2 separate regions of the Homo sapiens genome follow, and region 2 is linked to region 1. Evidence: promoter capture Hi-C in human tissues and cell types (Jung and others, 2019). All regions are on one chromosome and are shown on one strand. The core of a region is centred on a gene start or on the middle of the fragment in contact, and the rest is flanking DNA. Distances in the headings are between cores, read along the strand shown.

What was found. The method cuts DNA at HindIII sites, captures the fragments that hold promoters and counts their contacts. A contact is called where the count stands out against the background at its distance.
Region 2: a contact is called between a fragment that was not itself captured here and the fragment with the promoter of MMP1 in region 1, in 1 of the 25 tissues and cell types used here (hippocampus).

Annotation. Positions count from the first base shown.
Region 1 is chr11:102,796,609-102,799,703 of GRCh38, forward strand. It overlaps MMP1 (matrix metallopeptidase 1), which reads right to left and starts at 1,552. Exons shown (of 10, transcript NM_002421.4): 1 at 1,380-1,552; 2 at 648-892; 3 at 406-554; 4 at 56-181. The coding sequence starts at 1,484. It also overlaps the pseudogene WTAPP1. The HindIII fragment of the contact is 22,607 bases long and covers 1-3,095 here.
Region 2 is chr11:101,498,082-101,501,193 of GRCh38, forward strand. All of the region lies in intron 2 of TRPC6 (transient receptor potential cation channel subfamily C member 6), which reads right to left. Among named protein-coding and RNA genes, the nearest start is that of MIR3920, 20 kb to the right of the region's middle. The HindIII fragment of the contact is 3,753 bases long and covers 1-3,112 here.

The sequences.
Region 1 (3,095 bases), core at 302-2,801:
ACAATGAAACATGAAGGGGTGGGAGAATTGAGAGAGGCAAATTTGATTGGCTTACCTCTGAAATTGTTGGTCCACCTTTCATCTTCATCAAAATGAGCATCCCCTCCAATACCTGGGCCTGGTTGAAAAGCATGAGCAAGATTTCCTCCAGGTCCATCAAAAGGAGAGTTGTCCCGATGATCTGAAAGAAACAATTCAACAAAGATTCCTTGTGGTTCTTATGTAAGCTAAGCCAGAAGGGCAAGCATTAGCTTTGTTAAGAGGCCAACAGACTTCCATCAACTGTGATGCAGTTTCCCTCTTCGAGCCCATAAAATCAACATTCATCTTAAACAATCAATTCCAGTTGCAAAGCTACGAGATCTAGGGGCAAGGTGAGGTTAAGGTGCTATAAGAAGAACTTACCTCCCCTGACAAAAGATATCATGATGTCTGCTTGACCCTCAGAGACCTTGGTGAATGTCAGAGGTGTGACATTACTCCAGAGTTGGAAGGCTTTCTCAATGGCATGGTCCACATCTGCTCTTGGCAAATCTGGCGTGTAATTTTCAATCCTTAGAATGAAACAAAATAGAGACACATTGGACATGACTTCTTACCACTGTCATGGGAAATAGCTCTCTCACTCTGGCCCTCAGTCTGCCTACCTGTAGGTCAGATGTGTTTGCTCCCAGCGAGGGTTCCCCTCAGTGAGGACAAACTGAGCCACATCAGGCACTCCACATCTGGGCTGCTTCATCACCTTCAGGGTTTCAGCATCTGGTTTCCCAGTCACTTTCAGCCCAAAGAATTCCTGCATTTGCTTCAATTTTTCAACCACTGGGCCACTATTTCTCCGCTTTTCAACTTGCCTCCCATCATTCTTCAGGTTGTAGTATTTTTCCAGGTATTTCTGACAAAAGAAAATTATCGAAACACTGCATGGGAAATCTTTCTCATTATTCTAAAAATTGATGGCATTAAGTTTTAGCCAAAACAGAGAACTGCTTTTAAACCTTGTGTTTAGATTTCGCAGTTGCTTTTATCCTTATTTTTGGTGAGAAATGAAATTTCAGAGTAGAAATGTCCCTACTATTAGTTATTGTGAAGTAAGAACTTCATAGTAGAGCAATTTTTGTAGAGCAAGATTTGCATACTGTTACAAGTCTACAATTTGTGGAGACAAGTTTGGATGTTGTTCCTTTAGTTCACTCTCACCTCCAACTGGAAAAAGAGAGCGTATGCATGGCTAGATACATTTTGGGTGGAGGGTGCTGTTTCTAGCAAAAAAAAAAAAAATCTCTTTATAAGAAACCTATCCTTAAAAAACTCTATTACATTACTGCAGAAAAATACAAACTAAAAATTTACATTATTGTCACATGCAATGCAGCATTTACCTGGACTAAGTCCACATCTTGCTCTTGTGTTTCTAGAGTCGCTGGGAAGCTGTGAGACACCACACCCCAGAACAGCAGCAGCAGCAGTGGAGGAAAGCTGTGCATACTGGCCTTTGTCTTCTTTCTCAGTGCAAGGTAAGTGATGGCTTCCCAGCCTCTTGCTGCTCCAATATCCCAGCTAGGAAGCTCCCTCTGTATATATAGAGTCCTTGCCCTTCCAGAAAGCCAGAGGCTGTCTGACTCATGCTTTATAACATCCTCTTGATTAGCTATGAATAGACTAGGCAATCATTAGAAATGGTGACTCCTAGCAGATTATTTGGAATCACTTGGTGTTGCAATGTCATGATTAACTTCAAACAAGATGTGTGCGAAGGAGACACACTCTGCCATGTAAACAGTGGTTTTCTCCAATTCATTTCTTTCCTATTTGAGAAAGGTTCTTGTTATATACACAGGTCAAAGAGTACTCCATGGTCTTTTTGAAAAAGACTGGTTCTGATGGTCATAAAGTGCTACAGGTTTCTCCACACACCTTGCTCCCAGGGCAGAGGGTGGAATTACTAACACTGCGCACCTGATGGCTGTTCGGCACCTGTACTGACTGAAGTTCAGCTCCCCCAGCACTCACTTTACGGTGGCTCTTCGGGGTTCTCTGAGGTTCCCTTCTGCCTTTGTTAAGCTGCCTGGTACCCTATTGCGATAGCACCATGGCTTCCCTTAATCTTTACTCAGAGCCAGGCATGGTGGCTCAAGCCTATAATCCCAGAATTTCAGGAGGCCGAGGCAGGGGAATCACTTGAGCCCAGGAGTTCAAGATCAGCCTGGGCAACATGGTGAGACCCCATCTCTGTAAAAAACAAACAAACAAACAAACATTTTTTAAAGTTAGCCAAGCATGGAGTCATGCACCTGTAGTCCTAGTCACTGAAGAGGCTGAGGTGGGAGGATCACTTGGGCCTGGGAGGTTGAGGCTGCATTGAGCTGTGATTGTGCCGCTGCACTCCAGCCTAGGCAACAGAGAGGGACCCTGTCTAAAATAAAATTTGAAAAAATTTACTCAGGCCTAGGATTTAAGAGCCTTACCTGAGAAGACCCCTCATCCACAGGCGGAGTATGAGATAACTCCCCACCCCTTGCCCATCATTATCATGGGACAAATAGGATCCTTCCCTGAAACTTGTCTGAATGTACCGGATGATGAAAAGGCTGGAAAGAGACTGAGCGTGACTCTGGGGTCTTATTTTTAATCATACTTGTTTCCCTTGATATGAGTCTATCTTCGCTCCTTGGTGCTAGGCAGCATTTATTTATTCTTTCATGTATGCATTCATTCATATATTTATGCATTCCTCCATTCAAAAGATCTTATTTAGCATCTCCTGCCCATTAAAATAAATACATGGCTCTGTAATGAAAGATGTGTATTCCTGTACTTATGTTCCACATTAAATTGTCTTGGGTACTGGTGACCGGTGTCACCAGTGCTATCTGTAGCATTCCTGGTAAGAAAAGTTGGTTTATCTCTGTAGCTCCCCTACTCATGCCCCACTCTCCTTCCTTGGAAGCATTTATTGAAAACATACAGTGGAGAAACACTGGCCTGTTTTATCACTTCAGCACCTTATGGTGTCTCCCACCTTTCCCACTGTATCAGGTTTGCTTTTCAACACTTTCCTCCCCTTATGGATTCCTGTTTTCTTTCTGCGTCAAGAC
Region 2 (3,112 bases), core at 20-2,519, 1.3 Mb before region 1:
CCTTGTCTTTAAGTCTGTTGTCCCTTATTTGAATTAAAACTCAAGTCAAGGAGAGAAAGCAAGAGTTTTTGCTGTCCTTCTTTGGTATCAAAACCAGTCAAAGTTTTGGGTTTTCTGTTTTTTACTGACTTTGTGTTGCCAAAATTGTCTTAACCCAATTTTAAGCTTAAGATGGCTGAGGTCTCATGCTACCAAAGCCTAAAACTATTTATAAAGATTCAATATAAAAACTGAATTTGAATGGGTAAAAATTGTATTAATGTTTTCTCCCATTTTCTTTAAAAACCTGCAACTCCCCAACATCTCTTGGTTTTCTTCTTGTTCCTGTGGCTCCATCTAATTGTTAGATTTCTCTGCTGAGGTCTCGTGTCACCTCTGCTTGGAACCAGCTATACATGTGGTGATATGAGTAACAAAACACTTAGGCCTAGAAGGTTCAAGGCACAGGATAAAACTGCCTCAGAAACCCAGTAACGTCTCCCATGGTCTCTTTTGTTAATGTACTATGGGTTATTGTAGTAGGGGACAGTTTGGAAGGTGCTTAGAAAAGCAAGCTATGTATTGGAGCTTACAAAATCGTTATGAAAAGTCCCATTCTCTGTCATAAAATAGATTAATCGTCTTCAAACAGAGGTACATTAATACTTTCCAAGTGGCTGTAGAATATGGATAATTTTTAGGGAATCAATTTGCAGATCTCCACTTTCCTAAAATGGATTTCCTTGAAAATACATCTTTTGCTCGCCCACCCACCCATGTAGCAAGCAAGAGAGAGTCCCCCTTTAAACAACAGAGAGTCCCCCTTTTACAGTATCCAGCTACTATAAACCCTGAAGGGCTTCCCTGAATAAATACACATTTCTGCTGAAGATGAAGCTTAATGATAGAAATGCAGCACCTTGGCTCATGTTGGGATGTTCTGATTTCAGATGGACAGTGCAGGGTGGAGACAGAAACAAGGGCCATTTTTTATGACTTTGCCTCTTCATTTGCCAACAATTGTCAAAGAATGAACGCTTCTTGAGTGAGAGTCCAGAAAAAGTTAAGCAAAGACAGCATCAGCAGGGAATACTGAATACCAAACAATGCTTTGTCATGTATTGAAATGTAAATGATTCCTTATATTATTCTTAATATCTTTCAGATGTATCATTCACTAGAAAAGTATCTCAAACAGGCAAGGCAGAAAAGCTTAGTGAGAGTGATTCTTTTAAATGTGACTTGGAATGGTTTGCAGAACTCAAAATTTTTACAGGAAAATGGTCAAAGCCCATGGATGAAATTTTATGTGATTTCTTTCTGATTTAGAATTTTAATCTAGTAAGATAGTTATCAAATCATATCTAGAAATATTTATTCCTACTACTATTTATCCTTTTTTAATTTTATTCCATAAAACCTTTAATAATTTATATATCCTATCAACAAAGACTAAAATAACATACTGGCTGCCATACCAACTAATTTTTAGCTACATATATATACATAAATGGTGTATATATACGTATATATATACGTATATATGGTATATATATATACACACACAATATAAAATGTGTATATATATATATACACAATATAAAATGTGTATATATATATACACAATATAAAATGTGTATATATATATACACATTTTATATTGTGTATATGTGTATATATATATACACAATATATAATGTGTATATATATATATACACAGTATAAAATGTGTATATATATATACACAGTATAAAATGTGTATATATATATACACAGTATAAAATGTGTATATATATATACACAGTATAAAATGTGTATATATATACACAGTATAAAATGTGTATATATATACACAGTATAAAATGTGTATATATATACACAGTATAAAATGTGTATATATATACACAGTATAAAATGTGTATATATGTATACACAGTATAAAATGTGTATATATATACGCAATATAAAATGTGTATATATATACAATATAAAATATGTGTGTGTGTATATATATATATACACACACACAATTTTTCTTTCCTTAAATATATAGCCAAAGTGTGAACATGATGAGTACCACTAAAAAATACATCCAATAAGAATTGTGTCACATAGTTAAAATTTATTTTTCAAAATGTGTATTTTTTTTCTTTCTTTTTTTTTTTTGAGACGGAGTCTTGTTCTGTTGCCCAGACTGGAGTGCGGTGGCGCAATCTCAGTTCGCTGCAACCTCCGCCTCCCAGGTTCAAGTGATTATCCTGCCTCAGCCTCCTGCGTAGCTGGGATTACAGGTGTGTGCCATCATGCCCAGCTAATTTTTTTGTATTTTTAGTAGAGACAGGTTTCACCATGTTGGTCAGACTGGTCTCAAACTCCTGACCTCATGATCCACCCACCTCGGCCTCCCAAAGTGCAGGGATTCCAGGTGTGAGCCACCATTCTCGGCCCATATTAATTATTTTTAACAGCTGGGTTGATTTTTGTAGTTTTTGATCTAATATACTAATAATAGATATAAAGACAACTCTTTCCAGAGTATTTTCAATATCCAGAGCCTTTTAGCAAGAGGAAATGAAACAAATTCTAAAATTTCATATATATGTGTGTGTTATATGTATTTTATTTATATATGATATACATGTTGATATCTATATAAAGGGATTTTAAGAGACTTTACAATAATAAAAGCTATAATATGAGGAATCACATTTATGAAGGAAATTGGACTGAAAATATAACCTCAAGGAGTAAAAGGAAAGATGCAGCTATTCTGAACATTAAAGAAGATGTTGTTCGCTTAGTTGATGGTGGGCATGAAATCATTACAGCATTTAGAGTCCTTTGCATATATCTGAAGGAGAATTGAAGAGTTCTATTCTTAAATGGCAATATGTACACCATGCAGAAATCATATCCCTTAAAAATATTTATACTCACAGAAGACAAAAAATAGGTATCAATTTTAAACTGTGTGAATGAACACAGTTTTTCAAACATCTTTCAGATGGAAAGGGAGCAAAATACATACATACATACATACATACATACATACATACATACATACATACATACCATGAACAGGGAGGATCTCCTGTGGCCAATACAATCTCTCAGGTCCCTGTGAGGCTGACCA